2 separate regions of the Homo sapiens genome follow, and region 1 is linked to region 2. Evidence: promoter capture Hi-C in 16 types of primary human blood cells and fetal thymus (Javierre and others, 2016). All regions are on one chromosome and are shown on one strand. The core of a region is centred on a gene start or on the middle of the fragment in contact, and the rest is flanking DNA. Distances in the headings are between cores, read along the strand shown.

Evidence for each region. Contacts are between HindIII fragments. The CHiCAGO score rates a contact against its expected background, and 5 or more counts as called.
Region 1: a contact is called between the fragment with the promoter of MAPK1 here and the fragment with the promoter of YPEL1 in region 2, in 4 of 17 cell types (neutrophils, endothelial precursors, M2 macrophages and 1 more). The highest score is 9.6, in neutrophils.

Annotation. Positions count from the first base shown.
Region 1 is chr22:21,866,395-21,872,979 of GRCh38, reverse strand. MAPK1 (mitogen-activated protein kinase 1) reads left to right here and starts at 5,335. Exons shown (of 9, transcript NM_002745.5): 1 at 5,335-5,658. The coding sequence starts at 5,540. RefSeq lists a silencer at 5,165-5,404. The HindIII fragment of the contact is 41,836 bases long and covers 1-6,585 here.
Region 2 is chr22:21,734,131-21,741,085 of GRCh38, reverse strand. It overlaps YPEL1 (yippee like 1), which reads left to right and starts at 5,292. Exons shown (of 5, transcript NM_013313.5): 1 at 5,292-5,471. RefSeq lists silencers at 4,724-5,573, 5,594-5,643. The HindIII fragment of the contact is 25,539 bases long and covers 1-5,884 here.

The sequences.
Region 1 (6,585 bases), core at 4,086-6,585, 130 kb before region 2:
GGGATTATAGATGTGAGCCACCACACCCGGCCACACCTGGCTAGTTGTAAAATTTTATGTAGAGATGGGGTCTCCCTATGTTGCCCAGTCTCAAACTCCTGAGCTCAAACAATCCTCCTGCCTCAGCCTCCCAAAGTGCTGGGATTACACACATGAGCTACCACACCTGGCCTGGAGATCAGACTTTAGGTAGTAAAGATTTCTGAACTATTAAAGAAACAGAATTTATAGTTCATAATTGATTGGATGGGGTACAGGGTAAGGCTTGAGGTAAAATGTGTTGTTAAAGATTATAGTGAACTCTCCAACTTAAGTGTCTGGGTGAAGGTGATGCTATCCACAGATACAAGATAAACAACAGGTTTAGGTGAGGTAGGTAACAGATAACATTTAGTGGGTACATAACATAATATGTGTCAGGCTCTTCACATATGTTGTCTTATGTACTCTGTCCAACAGACTTATGTGAGGTAGGCATTATTGTGATCCCATTTTAAGTCTGAGGAAAATGAGGACAAGGTCACACAGCTGGTAAGCAGAGCAGCCAAGATTCAAACAGTCTCAGCACAGAACTCATGCAGTTAACCAATGGTGGTTTAAATTTGTGGCACTGAAACACCTGTGGGATGTCACATGGAGCTGTCCTGTGTGCAGGTGGACATGCTGACCTGGAATTCAGGAGAGATCTTCTGAGCAATAAAGATCCAGGAAATGAGGGGCACGGTGGCTCACACCTGTATTCTTAGCACTTTGGGAGGCCGAGGTGGGCAGATCACGAGGTCAGGAGTTTGAGACCAGCCTGGCCAATATGGTGAAACCCCGCCTCTACTAAAAGTACAAAAAATAAATTAGCTGGGCGTGGTGGTGCATGCCTGTAATCCCAGCTACTCGGGAGGCTGAGGCAGAAAAATTGCTTGAACCTGGGAGGTGGAGGTTGCCGTGAGCCGAGATCACCCTACCACACTCCAGCCTGGGCAACAGAGTGAGACTCTGTCTCAAAAAAAAAAAAAAAAGATCTGGGAGGAAGGAGGTGCATACCAATAGTCCCAGTTACTTGGGAGGCTGAAGTAGGAGAATGGTTTGAGGCCAGGAGTTCAAAACCAGCCTGGGCAACAAGTGAGACCCCGTCTCTCTCTATTTTTTTTTTTTTTTTGAGATGGAGTCTCACTCTGTTACTCAGGCTAGAGTGCAGTGGTGTGATCTCTGCTCACTGCAACCTCCACCTCCTGAGTTCAAGAGACCTTCCCGCCTCAGCCTCCCAAGTAGCTGGGATTACAGGTATGAGCCACCATGCCTAACTAATTTTTCTGTATTTTTAGTAGAGACAGGGTTTTGTCATGTTGGCCAGGCTTATCTCAAACTCCTGACCTCAGGTGATCCGCCCACCTCGGCCTCCCAAAGTGCTGAATTATGGGCGTGGGCCACCGCGCCTGGCCCCCGTCTCCTTTTATATATAATTTTCCAAAAAAAAAAAAAAAAAAAAAAGATCTAGGAGGAATTAAGGCACTGGAGTGAATGAAATCATCTATGAAGGGTCAAAATCTACCCCTTCAAAGTGTTGTCAATCTTGTTCTATTTTCCTTTGTCTTTTAAGTGTTGCAGAGGAGAAATCTGAAGAAAGCCAGTTTTTAGCTTTTTTTTTGAGATGGAGTCTCGTTCTTGCCACCATCTATGAATCTATGAAGGGTCGAAACCTACCCCTTCAAAGTGTTGTCAATCTTGTTCTATTTTCCTTTGGCTTTTAAGTGTTGCAGAGGAAAAATCTGAATAAAGCCAGTTTTTAGCTTTTTTTTTTTTTAAATGGAGTCTCGTTCTTATCACCCAGACTGGAGTGCAATGGTGCAATCTCGGCTCACTGCAACCTATGCCTTCCGGGTTCAAGCGATTCTCCTGCCTTAGCCTCCCAAGTAGCTAGGATTACAGGTGCCAGCCATCATGCTCGGCTAATTTTTGTATTTTCAGTAGAGACAAGGTTTTACCACGTTGGCCAGGCTGGTCTCGAACTCCTGACCTCAGGTGATCCACCCGCCTCAGCCTCCCAAAGTGCTGGGATTACAGGTGTGAGCCACCTCGCCCAGCCATCTTTTTTTCCCCCGGAGACGGAATCTCACTCTGTTGCCCAGACTGGAGTGCAGTGGCACGATCTCGGCTCACTGCAACCTCCACCTCCTGGATTCAAGCAATTCTCCTGCCTCAGCCTCCCAAGAAGCTGGAATTACAGGCACACACCACCACACCCAGCTAATTTTTGTATTTTTAGAAGAGATGGGGTTTCGCCATGTTGGCCAGGCTGGTCTAGAACTCCTGACCTCATGATCCGCCCGCCTCGGCCTCCCAAAGTGCTGGGATTACAGGCACGAGCCACCGTGCCTGCTGGCCAGCTTTTTTATAAATAACATTTTTTTCCCTAATTGGGTCTATTAGTGTCTGTTCTTTATCCCTGAAACTTAATGATTTTCCCAGATTATGTGTTGTTGGTTTCTTCTTAATTTTTCTCAATCTCAGTGAACCCACTCTATTTCCCACCTCCACCTCAGACCTTTTTGCAACCTAAGGAAACTTTTCTCCTATTGTAATTTTGATTATTCGCTCTAACCGATTTGCTCTGTCTTCCTGTGGGGATGCCTAGAGTTAGAATCCCTAGATGCTGTCCATCCCCATTATCTTCTCTTACAGGATTCCATCACTTTGTTCTATATTCTTGAAAATTTTCTCATGTTTATCTTCTATATTGCTGATGTACTCTTCTGCATCAAGTCTACTTTTTTTTTTTTTTTTTTTGAGACGGAGTCTTGCTCTGTCACCCAGGTTGGAGTGCAGTGGCGTGACCTCGGCTCACTGCAAGCTCCGCCTCCCGGGTTGACGCCATTCTCCTGTCTCAGCCTCCGGAGTAGGTGGGACTACAGGCACTCGCCACCACGCCCGGCTAATTTTTTTTTTTTTTTTTTTTGTATTTTTAGTAGAGACGAGGTTTCACCATGTTAGCCAGGATGGTCTCGATCTCCTGACCTTGTGATCCGCCCATCTCGGCCTCCCAAAGTGCTGGGATTACAAGCGTGAGCCACCGCACCCGGCCTCTTTTTTTTTTTTTTTTTTGAGACGGAGTCTCACTCTGTGGCCCAGGCTGGAGTGCAGTGGCGCGATCTCAGCTCACTGTAACCTCTGCCTCCCGAGTTCAAGCAATTCTCCTGCCTCAGCCTCCCGAGTAGCTGGGACTACAGGCACACCGGCAGGCCCAGCTAATTTTTTGTATCTTAGTAGAGACGGGGTTTCACCATGTTGCCCAGGCTGGTCCCCAGTTTCTGAGCTTGGGCAATCTGCCCTCCTCCGCCTCCCAAAGTGCTGGGATTACAGGCGTGAGCCACCGCGCCCGGCCGGTTATTGTGGTTTTAATTTCATGGTACTCCATTTATCTTGGCCTGTTTTTTAAAAAAATATGCAATGTCCTCTTTTGAGAATAAGAATTAGGTATTTTCTTTTTATTATTATTATTATACTTTAAGTTTTAGGGTACATGTGCACAATGTGCTGGTTAGTTACATATGTATACATGTGCCATGCTGGTGTGCTGCACCCATTAACTCAAGAATTAGGTATTTTCTAAAATTGGGTCCTGCTTCATGGGCTAAATATATTTTGAAGGAGTAAATTTTGGCTGGAGCAGTTTATTCCTTTTCTCATGTGTCACATCCTTTTTCCCCCACAGGATTTTTTGTTTGTTTGTTTCTCTGTTTTAGAGACAGGGTATTGCTGTGTTGCCCAGGCTAGTCTTGAATTCTTGGGCCCAAGTTGGGATTACAGGCGTGAGCCACCACACCAGCTTCCACCAGAGAGTTAAACAAACAAACAAACAAAAAACTTTGTTTATTCTCCTTTGAGATTGACTAATTAATCTTTGTTGATGTCTAGAAGTCAAGAGTTGATGGTTTTAAACTTGGAAGAGTTGAACAAAGAGGATATAGGGTCTGCCGCTCTTCCTTCTCCCTCCAAACATGGCAGGGGAAAAGGTTCAGAAGCAGTGCCTGGGTCATTGTCCGTCTCGTTGTCTTAGCTTTCCTTGGTATCCACCTGCTTCAGGACTCTAATTTTTATTTTTTCAACCTCTGTTGTTTGTGACTGTTTCTTAACCTGGTGTGTCTCTTTTTCTCTAAACCTCGATGTTTTGGTTTTAGTGACTCTATCTTTGCATTTCTATTTCATTACCTGCTCTGTCAGCATTTCTGCCTATCTGTACCAATCTCGGTCTGTCTCTGAACGCAAATGTATCTCTCATGTGTTTCGACCCACCACCCCCTAATCCCTTACTCTCTGCTTTGTCCTCCTGCCTCAGCCTCCCAAGTAGCTGGGATGACAGGCGCCCACCACTGCGCCCGGCTAATTTTTGTATTTTTAGTAGAGACAGGGTTTCGCCATGTTGGCCAGGCTGGTCTTGAACTCCTGACCTCGTGATCCGCCCGCCTCGGCCTCCCAAAGTGCTAGGATTACAGGCGTGAGCCACCTCGCCCGGACTTAATTTTTGTATTTTTAGTAGAGACCTGGTCTCAAACTCCTGACCTCAAGTGATCCGCCCGCCTCGGCCTCCCAAAGTGCTGGGATGATAGGCGTGAGACACCGCGCCCTCCCTTCTGCTTTGTACTTCTTCATCGTACTTATCACAACTTGAGCATTACACGTATTTGTCTGTCTCCTCTCTCTAAAAGGTAACTTCTATAAGGGTGGATCCCCAGGAACATGGAGTGTGCTCAACAAACATCTGAACTAACCTGATTGGCGTATCCTCTCAGTGTCTCCTTTTAGTCTCGACAATTGTGTTTCACACTTTCTCAGTATGCAAATATCTTTCTCGGTCTGGGTCATGCCTTTCGGTTTCTGCCCCAGTGCAGAGGCCTCTAAGTTTATCAGCGTGTGGACCACAGATTCGCAGAGGCCTGAGCTGCGGCGCTGCCGGGATATGGCGCGTCGTCGGGCCTCAAGCACAGCCCGGGGTCCCTCGCTGGCTCTGTTCGGACCCTGCTCGGTCGCTCGCCTGGGCCCCAGCCATCTCTCACTTCAGCCCATGAGTTCTGCCCCACGTCTGTCTCCCTGGGTGTCTTAAGAGACGCGACCCGCACCGACGCCCCCGCGAATGCACCGCGAATGCACGTGACCGCGCCTAGTGGCGCCCCCTCAGTCAACGCCGTCGCAGTGCCCCTCCCGAAGCCCGCCGCTTCCGCCGGCCCGCGCGGCCCCGCCCCCAGCCGCGAGGAACCAATCCGCATGCACACTTCTTGTCCCCGCCCCGGCACCCTCCTCGGCGCGCGCCCCTCCCTCCGCCCGCCCGCCGGCCCGCCCGTCAGTCTGGCAGGCAGGCAGGCAATCGGTCCGAGTGGCTGTCGGCTCTTCAGCTCTCCCGCTCGGCGTCTTCCTTCCTCCTCCCGGTCAGCGTCGGCGGCTGCACCGGCGGCGGCGCAGTCCCTGCGGGAGGGGCGACAAGAGCTGAGCGGCGGCCGCCGAGCGTCGAGCTCAGCGCGGCGGAGGCGGCGGCGGCCCGGCAGCCAACATGGCGGCGGCGGCGGCGGCGGGCGCGGGCCCGGAGATGGTCCGCGGGCAGGTGTTCGACGTGGGGCCGCGCTACACCAACCTCTCGTACATCGGCGAGGGCGCCTACGGCATGGTGTGGTGAGTGTCCGCGACCGGCCACGCCCGGCCCCCCCACCGCCCGGGGCCGCAGCGGACGCAGCCTCGGCCTCGCCCGCGCCTCGGCCTCAGGCGCCGCGGCGACCTCGAACCCGGACTTCACCGCGGTCCGCGCGCCAGGGCTCGGGCGCGGCCCCGGGCCGGTTGAGGTTTAGGTGTTGTTGCTCGCGGTTCCCGGGCCTTCGGTCGCTCGGGAAGGGGCTCAGGGAGTGGCGCGGGGGGCGTAGGCCGGTACTAGTGGACCCTTGGCCCCGGGCGCAGCGCGGCCTTTAAAGTCTGGACCCTCGGGAAGGCAACGGAAGGGTCCCCACCCCTCAATTTGCTAGTATCATGGCCTTCTTTTGGACTTTCGATTGTAAAACTGTGAATTCCATCAGATGCTTGTCGGTGTTGGCGGCGGTGGCTGCTGAGGTCCTGAAAGCGTTTTGCCTCCGCGTGTGTGCAGAACACCGAAATAATCGTTTTTCTCTCTTCGCCTCTGTTTGCAGCCAACGGCTTTCATTAAATATCCTCAGCGGTGCTAATGGTGGTCTCCGCGCAGGCTTTCTAAAATGGATTACTGACGCCAGTGTTGGTGGCATATTTCCGTCTTGAAGTTTTTACTTCTAAGTGGATTTTAATATCGTACTGCTGGCGTTTCAGGAAGGATAAACTAACATTACTCTCTTGATTTGTTAAAGATCCGTTTAGAGTTGGGCCTAATTTGACTTTTTTTTTAGCCCCCAAGTGAGCTCTTTTACCAGCATAAATGCTCCCAGATGTTTTAGCCCAATTGCTATGGACTCCTGTTAATGATTTAGTGGTCATTATGTATGCAGCCTTAATGGAGTTCTTGCAGAATCACACGTAGACTCCCTCATCTTGATTCAGGTCCCTTAGAAAAGTGAAATGATAGTGACGGTTTTTTTT
Region 2 (6,955 bases), core at 4,043-6,542:
TTTGGGAGGTCGAGGTGGGAGGATCACTTGAGGTCAGGAGTTTGAGACCAGCCTCGGCGACATGGTGAAACCCCCGTTTCTACTAAAAAAAATAAAAATAAAAAAAATTAAGGGGGCGTGGTGGTGGGCGCCTGTAACCCCAGCTACTTGGGAGGCCAAGGCAGGAGAATTGTTTGAACCCAGGAGGTGGAGGTTGAAGTAAGCCGAGAGCACACCATTGCATTCTAGCCTAGGCAACAGAGCAACTCCGTCTCAAAAAACAAACAAACAAACAAACAAACAAAAACTTTGTGCTTTGTAGTTGGCTAAACTCTTGCAGGGGCAGTAATAGGAAATGGAGGAGGAGAGAGAGGAAGGAGCCAAATCGCTTCAGCCCATTAATGAACTCTAGCTTTTACCTGGGGCTTTCGAGGAGGTATACATCTGGCTTTTGTTCTCAAAGAATCAGTCAGTGAAGAATAAAGTTAAGGAGGCAAAGTTTGTAATTTGGAGGCGACTTGAGCAATAACAATAATCTAGACAAGAGATGAGAGTGGCTCAGGCCCTGGGTGCTGGTGACAGCAGTGGAAGCCTGGGAACTTGCTGAGGGATTGGACCTGGGATGTGAGGGAAAGAGAGGGGTCAAGGAGGACTCTGAGGATTTGGCCTGTGCCTGAAAAATGGCAATGCCCTTAATTGAGCTGGTGGAGACAGAGGCTTGGTTTGGTATGTGTTGAGTTTAAAGTGTAGACCTCCAAGTGAGACTGCGAGTGGGCAGCTGTAGGTGAGAGCTCGGGGGTCAGAGGAGGGTTTGTGCTGAGGAACACACTTTTTTTTTTTTGAGACAGAGCCTTGTTCTGTTGCCCAGGCTGGAGTGCTCACTGCAGCCTCAACTTCCCAGGTTTAAGCGATCCTCCCTCCTGAGCCCCCCAAGTACCTGGGACTACAGGCGTGTGGCCACCACACTTGGCTAAACACACACACACACACACACACACACACACACAGAGAGAGAGAGGAGGTTTTACCATGTTGCCCAGTCTGGTCTTGGGCTCCTGGGCTCAAGGGATCCACCTGCCTCAGCCTCCGAAAGTACTGCCATTATAGGCATGAGCCACTGTGGTTGGTGAGGAACACACTTGATCAGTAGCAGGCTCCATGTGGTCTTCCACTGCCAATGAGCTTGGTGGAGATCACCTGTCAGGCCAGTGGAGGGAAGGGAGGAGACCTAAGGGCTGAACTTTTGGGGCCTCCAACATCAGGAGGGTGAGGGCAGGTGGGGAAATGGAGGCTGGTGAGGAAGAGAGTGGAGCCCCAGAATCTAAGTGAAGAAAGTGTTTTTAAAAAGCGCCCCACTGTAGGAAATGCTAGTAGGACCATCCAGTAAGGTATAGGCTGAGCCCAGATGTGACGACATGATGTTTTGCGACATGATGTTGGAGCGGTTGGGATGGAACCCTGAGAATGGGAGGTGGGCATGGGAGGCGCCCAGGCCAGGCCCTTCTGTGTCATCTTGCCCTGAAGAGTTGCAGAGCAGGTGGGCATAGCCAAAGAGGGTACGTGGAGCTGAGAGCACGGCTCCTACCCTGATGGGGCAGCCCAGTAAGCCGTGGGGGGCAGGACTAAGGGCGAGCCACGTGTTCATGGCAGCAGGCAGGGCAGATGTTTAGGATGGGATGTTTAGCAGTGGGGGCAGGGAGGAGTCCTCTCCCATCTCTATGTTCTCTGTAAAGTTGGACACAGAGTTAGCAGAGGGGAGGAGGCATGATATCATCTTCCAGGATGGTGGAACCTGCACAGACCCGGAGGTGCAGCAGGCGGAGGGTTTTCAGGAGGACTAGGCTTCCCTAGAAACTGGTGTCCCCAAAGTAAGCAGCCAGCTGCAGTGGTGCGTTTCCCAGTTGGGGGAGGGGGCTGAATTTCTCCAGGACAGGCGAGGGTGGGGTGTGGGAAAGGGGTTAGGGAGGAAGTGGGCATGGGGGAGGGCAGCCCCCAGTGGGAGGGCATGCTGAGGCATGGAGCTGGGACGCTAAAGGGAGGGAGCCCTGGAGCTTGAAGGTGGTGTTCCTGAGTGGGCTGTGGGAAAGTGGATTATAAATGGTGCGACCACAAGGCAGGCGGGGGTGGCAGGCTGCAGGCCTGGCTGATGGTGCTGCCCAAGGCCACCCAGAAGGTCGTGCCTGGGATTTTGTTAATAAAAACAGAGGAGGATAGAAATGTTAGGGCATTGCCCAAAATAAATAAGAGTATGTATTAAATCATGAAACTTTTTGTTCATCCAAATGTGTACTAGATCACAATGTAGACTTTCTTTTACTACTTTTATTGTGGTAAAATATACATAACAAAATTCACCATTTTAACTTTTTTTTTTTTTTTGAGACAGAGTCTCACTGTGTTGCCCAGGCTGGAGTGCAGTGGTTCCATCTCGGCTCACTGCAACCTCCAACTCTTGGGTTCAAGCGATTCTCTTGCCTCAGCCTCTGAGTAGCCGGGACTACGGGCACACACCACCACGCCCAGCTAATTTTTTTTGCATTTTTTTTTTTTAGTAGAGACGGTGGTTTCACCATGTTGGCCAGACTTGTCCTGAACTCCTGACCTCAGGTGATCTGCCCACTTGGGCCTCTCAAAGTGCTGGGATTATAGGCATAGCCACCACACCCGGCCCATTGTAACAATTTTAAGGGTGCAATTCAGTGGCATTCACATTGTTGTACAGCCATTCCCACTACCAATTCCAAATTTTTTTATCACCCCAAACAGAAACGTTGTACAGATAAAATGAAATAGGTCATGTGGTCACGTGGTCATAGTTAACAACACTTGACGCCACCAAGTCCGCGGAAAGATGCTCAACACCACTAATCACGAGGCAAGTGCAAACCAAACCCATCATGCACCAGGCTGGCCACTGTCAAAAAACAGAAAATAACAGTTGGTGAAGATGTGCAGAAACTGGAAGCCTTGTACACTGTTGGAGAGAATGTGAAATGGTGCAGTTACGTTGGGAAACAGTATGTAATCGCCTTAAAAAATTCAACATAGAACTACCATATGATCCAGCAACTTCACTTCTGGGTATATACCCAAAATAATTGGAACCAGGGGTGCCAAGGGATGTTTGTACCATCAAGTTCATAGTGGCATTATTTACAATAGCTAAAGTATGGAAGCAGCAAGCCAGGTGTCCACTGACAGATGCGTGGAGAAACAAAATGTGGTATCTACATACAATGGAATATCATTCAGCCTAAAAAAAGGAAGGAAACTGTGACAGTGCTACACCATCGGTGAACCTTGCAGACATTATGCTAAGTGAAATGAGCCACAAAAGTCACAGTAAGCCACAAAAAGACAAATACTAGATGATTTCACTTATGTGAGGCACCTAGAGCAGTCAAGCTCATAGGGACAGAAAGTAGAATGGGGTGGTGCGGGGCATGGGGTAGAAGGAAACGGGAGTCATTGTTTCTTGAGTCCAGAGCTTTACTTAGGCAAGATGAGTTCTGGAGAGGGATGATGATGATGGTTGCACAACATTATGAATGTATTTAATACCAGTGAACTGTACACTTTAAAATAGTTAAATGGGGCCGGGCGCGTGGGCTCATGCCTGTAATCCCAGCACTTTGGGAGGCCGAGGCAGGCGGATCACTTGAGGTCAGGAATTCGAGACCAGCCTGGCCAATATGGTGAAACCCCGTCTCTACTAAAAATACAAAAATTAGCCGGGCCTAGTGGCGGGCAACTGTAGTCTCAGCTACTGGGGAGGCTGAGGCAGGAGAATCGCTTGAGCCCAGGAGGAGGAGGTTGCAGTGAGCCAAGCTCACACCACTGCACTCCAGCCTGGGCGACACAGCGAGACTCCTGTCTCAAGGAAAAAAAAAAAAAAAAAAAAAAAGGCAACATCCAGCCACAATCTAAGTTATGAGTCAGGTGTACATTTAGCGACTTGAAGAGATCTTTACATACACAGTGGGTTGCAGAAAACAAGAGAATACGTCCAGAGGACGCTGATAACAATGTTATATACATTGTGACCTCAATAGAGGTTTTGTTGTTTTCTTGGTTTTTTTCTTTTCTTTTTTTTTTTTTTTGTTCAAGAGGAAGGGTCTCGCTCTGTCACCCAGTCTGGAGTGCAGTAGCGCGATCATGGCTCACTGAGGCCTCGACCTCCTGGGCTCAAGTGATCCTCCCGCCTCAGCCTCACAGGTAGCTGGGACTACAGGTGTGCACCACCATGCCTAATTTCTTTCTTTTTTTTTTTTTGGTACAGTGTCTCACTATGTTGCCCAGGCTGCTCTTGAACTCCTGGGCTCAAATGATCCTCCTGCCTCGGCCTCCCAAAGTACTGGAATTACAGGCGTGAGCCACCACACCCAGCCTTCAAATATATATATTCAAATAATACATATCTATTTTCAAATAATATATATTTTTTTAAAGAAGGGATACGGAACCAAGAAAACAGTGACATTAGAGGCGTGGGGGTGGCGCAGGCTGCCGGGGCGTCGGGAGCACTACCCAGAGGAAGGGGCTTTCTGTAGGGTCTGACGCGGCAGTCCTGGAGCAGAGCGAGGGGCCAGACGCAGACCCGGGGGGTCCTCCGTGGCGAGGGGGTCCTAGGGGGTTAGGTCCTTGGGTTCAGAGAGGGTGGTGGGGACGGGACAGCACGGACGACCGCATTCTGGGGACCCGGCCGCGGAGGGGTCCGGCCAAGGCGGGCCCTGGTCAGGCGCACACAAGCTCGCCTCGGCCTCCACGTCCGTCCCCTACAACGCGGCCGACCGCGCGGACGGGCGGTACGTGCACGGCGCTGGACGAGGAGGCTGCGCGCAAGCTCGCCTCAGCCTCTGGAGCTGCGGGCCCTGCACGCCCTCGGCCCATCCCCGCGAGCCGGAGGAACGAGTGACCACCACCGCCAGCCCCGCCGGCCGAGTGTCCCTGCCCAGCCAGCCTGCGTCCGAGCGCGGCGCTCCTCGCGGAACCCGCCCCTGCTCTCGCCCCGCCCCGCGCGGCCCCGCCCCCGTGTCCCTCGGCCCTTACAGGCTGGCTCCGAGGCCGCGCCCGGCGGGTCAGCCAATGGGAGTGCGGCGCGCCCCGCGGCACGTGGGCTCCTGCCCGTCCCGGCCGGGTGCGAGCTGGCGGAGCTCCTTGGCCCGGAGCGCGCGGGGCGGGGGCGCGCGGGGCAGGCGGGACGCGGGGCGGAACGGAGGCAGGATGGGGGCGGGGCGCTGGCGACATGGCGCGCTGATTGGCCGGCGCCGCGCTCCAAGGCTGTTAACGGCGTCTGGGCCGGGCTACGGCTCCAAAACAAAGGGCAGGCGGCCCGCGGGGCGGCGGCGGGAGGATGCCTCGCGCCCTGCCTAGGCGTTAACGGCCTCAGCGCGTCCCGGGCCGCGCCGGGAACGCCTGAGAGCCGAGCCCGCGCTGACCGGGGCCCGGGCCGGATGGGCGCTGCGGGCCGGGGCGCGGACCGCGGAGCGGCCGTGAGTACGGGCGGGCCTGGCTGCAGCTGCGCGGGCGGTTACTTTGTGGCCACCCAAGGATACTGTGGCTGCGGGCGGGCCCGGGAAGCACCTGTTGGGCGTCCGGGCGGGCGGGGGCGCGAGCAGGGCGGGCCTGTGACTTTTTTGTTCCGTTTTGGATTTTGATTTGTTGATATTGGGCTCACTCCGTTTTGGCACAGACAACAACGCCTAATCTTTGATTCCCCCGCCGTTTCTTCTCTCCACCTCCCCCGCTGTCCCTCTTCTCCCGCCCCGCCGTGAAAAGATAGGGAAAATGGACAAGATCCCTGATTTTTGGATTTTCCTTCCTTAAAAAATACAGCCTCAACTGGGCAAGGAAATGAGGGCAAAAGAGGTCTCCTAGGAATGTTTATCAGAAAGGCGGAAAAGCTTTTCAAGTAGCCACATAAAGATCATGACTAAAATGGAGCGTCCTCGGTATTTACCACTTGTGGCATAGGTTTCGTTAACAGAGATTGCAAAAGCCTGAGCTTCAGAGATCTAAACAGGGTCCGCCTCCCCCATGCTTGGCTCTGATTGACATCTTTGATGTCCAAATTATGTGCTGAATTCTAAGGATGGAAAAAAGGCTGAGATTCTATTTTAGGCAGATAATGAACATGGAAGACATCAATTTCCCCGCCCCACGCTTTTTCTGTTCCGTTGCATTTCTTCTTCCTCTATCTAAAACATACCCACCTTAACCTGATGTTTCCTTTGCTAAGAATGTTATTCTTCCCACCCACCAGCCCCTGACACTCCTAATTCCCTACTCAGGTCCCAAGACTAGGTTTACCACCACTGGGGAGACTTTCCAGGCACCTCACCTGAGCAAGCTATAGATGTGACAAATGTTTGCTGAGCCCCTGCCAGGTGCCAGGAGCTGTGCTTAATCCTGATGTCATTTTGTCTTACAATCATGCACTGGTCCCCCTCAGGGCTCTTGCGAGGCAATGGTAGTGGCATGTTTGAGGAATAAGAGGATCTCCAGGACCTTCATGGTGTTTCCTCTTGGGCCCTACAGGGTAGAGTCTCATCTACTTGTGGGAACCCCTACGGGTTGGGCCCATATTGAGCATTTATATAATAACTGAGCGCTCTTAATTACCAATCTGAGCAATAGTCTTCTTTTAAAATAACTTCTTATTTTGGAAAAACTTTAAATTTACATAAAGGTTGCAAAGATAGTACAGACAATCCCAATATATCCTACACCCAGTGCTCCCTATCCTTACCCCATCCTACACTGCTGTGGTACACTTGCCAATATGAAAAACACCTGGGTGCATTCTTGTCACTAAACTGTGGGTATTAAGCCTTTTCACCTTTGAATCACTGTAATTTATAAAGCCATTTCTCTGTTTGTTTCTTTGTTTGAGACAGGGTCTCACTCTTGCTCAGGATGGAGTGCAGTGGCACAAACACGACTCACTGCAACCTCCACATCCTGAGCCCAAGTGATC